Linked DNA regions of Homo sapiens: all the other regions are linked to region 1. Evidence: promoter capture Hi-C in 16 types of primary human blood cells and fetal thymus (Javierre and others, 2016). All regions are on one chromosome and are shown on one strand. The core of a region is centred on a gene start or on the middle of the fragment in contact, and the rest is flanking DNA. Distances in the headings are between cores, read along the strand shown.

Region 1 (2,832 bases), core at 1-2,500:
GGGTAGGTGACTCGGGAGGGGGGTGCAATCTCAGAAGCCTTCTTTTCTGGGGATCAGTCTCTGTCAGAAGCAGGACAGAGTAATCTGATCCCACTCCCGCCACCCCACACTGCATCAGGCCTCCATCTGGGTGCTCCAGTTCAGATGCTAGGACCTCAGAGGGAAGGCAGAGATAGACCAAGTGGGGAGTAGACACCCTAGGCCTGGTGTACAGAAAGTAGTAGAGAAGCCCTTCCAGGGCAGGAGTTTGAGACAGCGGCCTGGAAGTTAGAGTTGGAGGCAAGTTCTCTTTGTCCAGTTCCTTTATTTGGGGCAGGGCACCAAGAAGAGGCCCTCCGCTCCCCAAACCCAGAGGCAAAAGGGGTTGGCACGCTCCCTCCCAGCCTAGTCCTTGCGTCACTGTCCATGGGCAATTCCTCTGCCCTGCATCTTCAGGCCATGTCAGGTAGAGGTATCCATCTCAGGGACCTCAGTGGACACTTCCGTGGGCACTGCCAGCCGCCTGGGGGGCACATAGGATCCCATACCCGCTGCCCTCTCCGCCTCTTCCTGACTGTAGGGCTCGACGCTCAGCTGCTTCAGCCTGGGAGAAAGAAAAACAGGAGTTGGGAGCTGACCAGGTGAGAGCCCTATCTGCTGAGCACCCATCCATCAATCCTCTCCTTACTCCTTCATACCTTTTCTTGTGGTCTTTGGATCGGAAGTGGGTCTTCAGGTTGGTGGAATCGATGAAGTACCTCCTGTAGGAATGGAAGTGAGAAGGAGAGTGAGGAGGTGATAGTCTCCCAAGTGCACCTATCTCCCTAGCCCTAGCTTGTCCCTGACGCCAGGATCCGGGTCTGAGAAACGGGAGGCGGGCGGACCCACGGGTCCCAAGAGAGAAGACTCTGCGCTGCCTGGGGCTTCAACTTCACATCTCCCGGCCGGTACCGCGGACCCTCCTCCGCCCCAGGCCGGGCTCGTCCGGGACTCACGCGCAGGCCAGACAGCGGTGCAGACCGCCCCCTGGCAGGTCGGGGTCGAACTCGGCGTTTGGGTCGGGCTGGGGTCGTGCGGATCCCTGAGGCCGCAGCTCGCGGTGAATCTCATCCAAGTCCGGCCGCCGCCGCTTCGCCTTCATCTGCCGGGCTAGAGAGTGCGCTCGGTGCGCGCCTGTCCGGCGGGAGCGACCCATGGCCAGAAACAGCCCGGCCGGCCAAGGGGCCAGGAGCAGGGCAGGGAGCACACGTGTGAGCACTTCCGGGCCGATCAGCTACGTCAGGCCACGCCGGGGGGCTAGGCAGGCTCGGCCGGACCGCCTCTGATGACGTCACTCTCGGCCAGCGGCTCGAGCGCCGCCAGGCGGCCGTCGACGTCAGTGACCGAGCTCAGGACGGGCTCCCAGAAGTGTGCCCACTGAAGGGCATGGCCCCGCGGGCCCTCGCTGGGGAGGCGCGGGGTGGTGCGTGCGCCTGGGGGTTTCGGGGCCGTCTTGCTGCCCTGCTCTTCCTGGCCTGGTCCAACCAGTATCAGTGCCAACCTGTACTCCTGTCATCCCTTCCTGTTTCCCAGACCTTGGACTCCGCGGTGGGGGTGGGATGCTTTATCTCTGGAAAGCACTGATAAATGTCTGTGTCATGAATAAATTAGTAAATGACTGAGAGTGAATAAGTTTGGAATCCCAGCCCCACCAGGGCTTCCCGAGATAATCTCCAGTCCCTGAAAAAGCCCTCACTTCTCCGGGCTCCCGTTATTCCCTTGAGTCTCCATCCTCTCTCTGACCCCAACCAAATCCGTGAAGGGTGTTCCTCCCCAGAGAGTGCAGTCCTCAGGCATCCAGACTCCAGAGGGATCAGTTCCTCTCACAAGTACTCATAGAAGGACCTCTCCATCTTTGCCTCCTTTCTCTAAGCCCTGGGCTCCCAGAGGTGGGCTGGCAGCAAAGGCCTAGGTGTTGCATGCTCAGAGTGGCTAGAGGGCCTTTCCCCATTCACAGGAGCCTGGTGCCTCCCAGGCTGGCCAGAGCCAACTCAGCTGGAAGGGGCCAGAGGAGCTTAGCAATAATTCAGGGGCTCCAGCTCTTTGGAGTCTGTTGCCAGGAAACAAGGAGACAGGCACGTGTATCCCTGGGGAGAGGAATCAGTTTCCAGCCCAGACAAAGGAGTGAAATGTAAGCCCAAGGTGCCCACTGGGGGCCTGCGGACCTTCCTGCTCCAGTTCATTGAGGCTAAGTAGGGACACAGGGTGGAGCCCTGCTGAGGACACAACTAGTATGACTACAGTCACAGGGGCTCCAGTGTGGGTCCCAGACCTCAGGATTTTGTGAATGGAAGAAGATTTTCCTGGAGGCATGCTAAGAGATGAACAACTCAAGTACTCCTAGGCCCAGGAAGAAAGCCTCTCTAGAGACAAATGACTTCATTATTCTTGGCCAATATGGGTCAAGACAAGGGGCTAAGGTGGCAGAAGCTTGTTCCATCCCCCACTCCCCGACTCCTTTGGATCAGGTTCACCTCCTGGGCACTGTGCCAGCTGGGGAGGCTGGTGCATCTTTAATGAAGTCACTGGATCCCTCGGACAGGCTCTTGGCCTCACCAAGTTCCTAGAGCCAGACTCACTGGTATCCACTGAGCCACCACCTTCCTGTGCTTGCGTGCCAGGCCCCTTCCCCCTGCAGCCATGAACCAGGCCTTCTGGAAAACCTACAAGTCCAAAGTGCTACAGACCCTGAGTGGGGAATCTGAAGAAGACCTGGCAGAGGAGGTGGGTGCCATCCATGCATGGTGGGTGGAGCATGTGCAGAGGGGCAGCAGGAATGAGCAGTATGAAGTGGGGCACAGGATAGGCTTGGAG
Region 2 (2,832 bases), core at 162-2,661, 280 kb after region 1:
AAGCCACTGTTTTTGAGCCACCACACCTGGCCCATTGTGGCTTTTCATTGCTTGCTGCTGAATGAAGTCATAGCTGATGGAGTCATGTTGAGTTCAAGATTTTTGGAGGAGGGACGTGGGTCTAGGGAAGGAGGATGAGGTTACCCCATACACTGAGCTAGTCAACCCAGAGTTCAGTCGTTTATTCATTCAAGAAATATTTATTGAGGACCTACTATGCACCAGCACTATCCCAGGTGCCGAGAATTTAGCAGCAAATAAAGCAAGGATTCTCACCCTTGAGGAGTTTGCATTCTGCTGTAATCAAGAAGCCAGCCTGACTTATGGGCAATTGCATTTCATTTAATCCCAAGGGTGGTGGGGTATGAGGTGTGAACAGGTGATGGTGGTCGGGCATGGCATGTCTATTCCCACAGCCCTCCTCACCCACTCGTGATGTTAGCAAATCAAAATAGTCAACATGTTTCTTCAGTGTTTTCTAGGAGCCAAGCACTGTGCTGTGTTCTACCTCTGACGGAGGTGTTCTGATTATCCCCATGTTATAGGAAGGTTAAGAAAGCAGCTCTAGTCACACAGCTAACCAGCGGTTGTGCTAGATTTAAACCCAGGGCTTTCTGACTCCAGAAATTCACTGACCCCCCTCCCACCCCTGGGCAACCTCTTTAAAAAACAACAACAACAACAACAACAAGGGCCGGGCACGGTGGCTCACGCCTGTAATCCCAGCACTTTGGGAGGCCGAGGTGGGTGGATCACGAAGTCAAGAGATCGAGACCATCCTGGCCAAAATGGCGAAACCCCGTCTCTATTAAAAATACAAAAATTAGCCAGGCATGATGGCACATGCCTGTAGTCCCAGCTACTCAGGAGGCTGACGCAGGAGAACCACTTGAACTCGGGAGGCGGAGGTTACAGTGAGCCAAGATTGCGCCATTACAGTCCAGCCTGGCGACAGAGCGAGACTCCATCTCAAAAAAACAAAACAAAACAAAAAAACCCCAAAAAACACATCTTTATTGTCTAGAAATCTATATTTTCAAAATCCCCCAGAAAAGATGCTGTTCTCTCACTTCCCCCATTTTCTTCCTTTTCTTCCATACCTCTACTATAAAGGACATTTTTATACCATATTAAAACTTCACCCAGATGTCCAGACAGCTCCCCACCTATGTATTTCTCTTATTTGCAAGCTGCATGTTCATGTAGCCATCTAAGATGCCAGATAGCCCTTGTACTCCATTCCCCACTTTGTTTCAGCATCACCGGCTTTCCTGTTAACCCACTGAGGAAAGCTTCGGGATTGAGGGGTAGACTTACCGTAACTATGGGCAAATGCTGCAGGCTCCTGGACAACCTCTTGGCCCCTTTTCCTGTACCCCTTTTTGTCATTGTTTAACAAACCACTTCCTGATTTCCCCTTTCTCCTTGCTTTGGAAAGGGACAATGTCTCTTGTTCATTCCTGTGGTCCAGGCACCTGAACGAAGGCCTGGCAACCTTCATTCCTCCATCCCACTTTTTAAGAAGCTTTCTCTATGCTGAGTGCTGGGAATATAGACAAGTCACAGAACAAGACACACAACCCAGGAGGGAAACAGGTAATTAACAGGTGTCACAGTATAATGGGTCTGGTAGGATAATCAGAGGGACCTACCTTTCCTTGGTACAGGAAAGGGCATCCAAGTCAGAACAGGGTGGTGGGGACCGGTCAACGAGGGCTGCCTGGAGGAGTTGACACCTGAGCTGAGTCCCAGATGAGAAGCAGGAGTTGAGCAGATAAATAAAAGCAGTGGGGCCAGGCACGGTGGCTCATGCCTGTAATCCCAGCACTTTGGGAGACCGAGGCAGGCAGATCACGAGTTCAAGAGATCGAAACGATCCTGTCCATGGTGAAACCCCATCTCTCCTCAAAATACAAAAATATTAGCTAGGTGTGGTGGCAGGCATCTGTAGTCCCAGCTACTCAGGAGGCTGAGGCAGGAGAATCTCTTGAACCTGGGAGGCGGAGGTTGCAGTGAGCTGAGATCACACGACTGCATTCCAGCCTGGGCAACAGAGTGAGACTCCATCCCCCACCAAAAAAAAAAAAAAAAAAAAAAGTGGTGGGGGTGTTCCAGACAAAGGGAGCAGCACATGGAGGGTGGAGAGAGGCGAGATGGCAGCATGTGAGCATGGCTGGACTGTGGATGCAGGTGCACTCGTCTCCCACTAAGGAGTCCCGCCTAAGCATCCTAGAAATCTGGGGCCAGAAGGATCTTAATCATCAACAAATCCAACCTCCTCCTTTTCCAAATGAAGCCCAGAGAGGGGAAGCCATTTTTCCAAGGTCACATAGAAAGCTAATGATGGAGAATAGACTCAAACTTGCTGCACTGCCTGAGTTTTGGATTTTCTTTTTTTCCTTCCATTCCTTCCCTCTGCCCTTCCCTCCCACTGTCCTCCAATTCATATTTGTCACATGCCTACTTTGCACCAGCCCAGTACCCTGACCTCCTTGCCTTAGAACCTTAGGCTTCCAGAGCCTAGGTCATCACCACCTCTTCCTATCAAACCTCCTCCCCACACCCCGTTCCTGCCTGACCTTTCCTACTCGTTAAAAATCCAGATGCCTAGGTTGCTTCCCATACCAACAAGATCAGAATGTCTGGGGGTGGGGGCCAGGTGTCAGTATTTTTTAAAGATCCCTGGATGATTCCATTTGTAGCAAAGTTTGAGAACCACTGTTTTAGCCCTGATGAAGGGCCCCTCCACCTCCTGTCCCTTGGCCTCTGGGTTGCAGATGACCTGGTGATTTTTCTTTTTCTTCCAGATGTACTTCTGGACTCACGGGCCTG
Region 3 (2,832 bases), core at 218-2,717, 260 kb before region 1:
CTCCAGCCTGGGCGACAGAGCGAGACTCCATCTCAAAATAAAAAAAAGAACAGGAATTTCACCCATGTTTGTCTGCGTCTAGAGCCCAAACTCTTTTTTTTTTTTTTTTTTTGAGACAGAGTCTTGTTCTGAACTCTTTTTTTTGAGACAGTCCCGTTCTGTCACCCAGGCTGGAGTGTGGTGGCACAATCATGACTCACTGCAGCTTTGACCTGGGCTCAAGAAATTCTCCCACTTCAGCCTTCCGAGTAGCTGGGACTACAGGTGCACACCACCAAGCCCTGCTATTTTTTTAATTTTTTGGAGAATCGGGGTTTTGCCATGTTGCCCAGGCTGGTCTCAACTCCTGAGCTCAAACAATCTGCCCACCTCAGCCTCCCAAATTGCTGGGATTACAGGCGTGAGTGACCGGGCCCAGCTCTACTGACAGATCAAAGAATATATCAAAGATTAACCTATTTAAATCAAGAAGACAGTACATGGAACAATGGATCAATGTTCCAGGGAAACAAATTTCAGTTCTCTATAAAGAATACTTAGCAGTCTAGGCTGCCCAGTGACATTAAGAGGCCTGGGCTTCCAGAAAATATCAGAGTTAGGACAAAAGTCTACCAGAAATGTAGACCTGGAAGTTACCATTCTAAGACTCTTTGGTTTCCTTGCTAAATTCCACTTAACATCATGAATTGCACTTAACATCATCAACTTTAATAACAGGTTTTTATATAAGATTATCCAACTGACCAGAAGGCCAACCGGTGCTCTGGGCCATTGCTCACCTTTATGATGTTGGCACAGAACCGCTCCCAAAGTGACAGCTCTCCTTCCTTGATCCATGACATAGTTCTTTTCCAGTCAGAAGATCACTCCAGAACAAGCAAACACCAGCCAGGTAATCTTGGATAAACAAGAAAGAAAATAAGAAGTCACCAAGGTTTGCGAAGAGCTATAACTGACTTCTGGGGAATCAGATGGACTATGGAGAGCAGCCAGCATTAGAATCCAAAGACACTGGTCTAAGCCTATAATCTTTTACCACCCAGAGTTTTATAACGCAATGTGACCTCTGGAGGCAAAAGCCTTTCCTCGGTTCTCCTGGCTTTGCAGACTTCTTCCCATTCCCATTTCCTCCGTATCTGCACTGACTTCTTCTGAACATCTAAGTCGGTTTCCTGCCACATCATGGTGCCCACATCTTGATCATTCCCCGTTTCTTCCTTCTCCATCTTCCCCTAAGCTGTTTCCAACTCTGTGCTCCCAGTTACTAACTCCTTCAGTTATCGCACGCCTAGTACTTCACGCCTCAGTGGTCTCCTGATTATTCCCTCAGTCGTCCCTTTGCTTCTCCCGCAGCTGCTCCCCGCCCAGTCACCCTCTTCTCCTCTAGTTCACCCCTTCAGTTCAGTGGCACCTGATTAGCTCCGCTGGGCGCGTCCCCACGGCTTCAGTGGGCCGGCACTTCCTCATGACGTGGCGCTGGCAGAACACGTCATCTTTGGGCGCTGCGACACGCCCCTTCCGTCACCCAAACTGAGGGGACCCTGCCCTGCGCCTGCGCCTGCGAGCTAGTGGGAGGGCGGTTCTCAGTCCCGCGGGGTGTGGAAGCCGGCGCGGGTGAGAGCCAGGCTCACGTGACCGAGCGGGGCGGGAGGCTGGGCTCCAGGCCACGTGCTGGGAGACCAGCTGGGGAAGACAGGGTTGAGCCCAGCGTTGGGAGCGGAGGCGTCTGGAAAACGCGCCAGGGAAATGAGCCAGGGGCAAGAATCGAGGCGCTTCTCGGCCGTCGAAGGCAGCTTAGGACTGCTGAGAGACTGGGTAAGGCAGCGTCCTTACCTTGGAATGCCGCAGAACCGGGCTTCATTAGAGCACTGGTGCATACTCTTAAAAATTATCTCGTTACCGTTTCGTATTTTATTTAGTGGATTTAATCGTCTGGGAAGGAGTTTCTAGCCGCAGCCAATCTTACAGACGCGCAGAATATTAATCTATTTTGTGCCGACTTAAGGCACGCATATTTTAGGATTTGTGGATTCCCAAGACCTATCCCAACGAACTCAAGAGAAGGGGTAAGGCCAGAAAGATTTCTGCCATAAGAATGACTTCTAGGCCAGGCGCGGTGGCTCACGCCTGTAATCCCAGCACTTTGGGAGGCCGAGGCGAACGGATCACCTGAGGTCAGGAGTTTGAGACCAGCCTGACCAACATCGTGAAACCCCGTCTGTACTAAAAATACAGAAAATGAGCCGGGCGTGGTGGCGGGCGCCTGTTATCCCAGTTACTCGGGAGGGTGAGGCAAGAGAATCGCTTGAACCCGGGAGGCGGAGGTTGCGGTGAGCCAAGATCAGGCCACTGCACTCCAGCCTGGGCAACAGGAGCGAAACTCTGTCTGAAAAAAGAAAAAAAAAAAAAGCATGACTTCTAAAATAACAGAAAGGTGCTCGCTTTGGCAGTACATAAATGAAAATAACAGAAATTAACCCTGGTAGAAAAGTTAAGGGCATTAGCTCTACTGAACCTTTACGAAAAAAAGGGTTGCAAGAATTCTAGGCTCACAAAACAAATTTGTAGTTCAATTTTCTCAAAATTGAAAGAGGAGGAAAAAATTCTTTACAGATTCTTATACAACCAGTATTATTTTTATTTATTTATTTATTTATTTATTTATTTAGAGACGGAGTCTGGCTATGTCGCCCAGGCTGGAGTGCAGTGGCGCGATCTCGGCTCACTGCAGCCTCCGCCTCCCGGGTTCAAGCGTTTCTCCTGCTTCATCCTCCTGAGTAGCTGGGACTACAGGCGCGTGCCACCAAGCCTGGCTAATTTTTGTATTTTTAG

Evidence for each region. Contacts are between HindIII fragments. The CHiCAGO score rates a contact against its expected background, and 5 or more counts as called.
Region 2: a fragment that was not itself captured here is called in contact with the fragment with the promoter of ZNF593 in region 1 in 1 of 17 cell types (erythroblasts); the score reaches 5.9 in erythroblasts.
Region 3: a contact is called between the fragment with the promoter of DHDDS here and the fragment with the promoter of ZNF593 in region 1, in 1 of 17 cell types (M2 macrophages). The highest score is 6.0, in M2 macrophages.

The regions. Positions count from the first base shown.
Region 1 is chr1:26,168,326-26,171,157 of GRCh38, reverse strand. It overlaps ZNF593 (zinc finger protein 593), which reads right to left and starts at 1,250. Exons shown (of 3, transcript NM_015871.5): 1 at 975-1,250; 2 at 678-740; 3 at 285-583. The coding sequence starts at 1,174. The coding sequence ends at 442. C1orf232 (chromosome 1 open reading frame 230) reads left to right here and starts at 2,195. Exons shown (of 4, transcript NM_001364669.2): 1 at 2,195-2,742. The coding sequence starts at 2,659. It overlaps ZNF593OS (ZNF593 opposite strand), which reads left to right. Exons shown (of 4, transcript NM_001395468.1): 3 at 1-2; 4 at 560-1,637. RefSeq lists an enhancer at 1,381-1,480 and a silencer at 2,714-2,832. The HindIII fragment of the contact is 4,459 bases long and covers 1-2,450 here.
Region 2 is chr1:25,885,845-25,888,676 of GRCh38, reverse strand. It overlaps a transcript of STMN1 not described here and the pseudogene SNRPFP2. Among named protein-coding and RNA genes, the nearest start is that of PAQR7, 12 kb to the right of the region's middle. The HindIII fragment of the contact is 233 bases long and covers 1,295-1,527 here.
Region 3 is chr1:26,430,956-26,433,787 of GRCh38, reverse strand. DHDDS (dehydrodolichyl diphosphate synthase subunit) reads right to left here and starts at 1,467. Exons shown (of 9, transcript NM_205861.3): 1 at 1,412-1,467; 2 at 780-897. The coding sequence starts at 842. LOC124903883 (a long non-coding RNA gene) reads left to right here and starts at 1,551. Exons shown (of 2, transcript XR_007065557.1): 1 at 1,551-1,815; 2 at 2,670-2,832. RefSeq lists enhancers at 1,148-1,637, 1,175-1,711, 1,738-1,797, 1,868-1,927, 1,712-2,248. The HindIII fragment of the contact is 8,751 bases long and covers 1-2,832 here.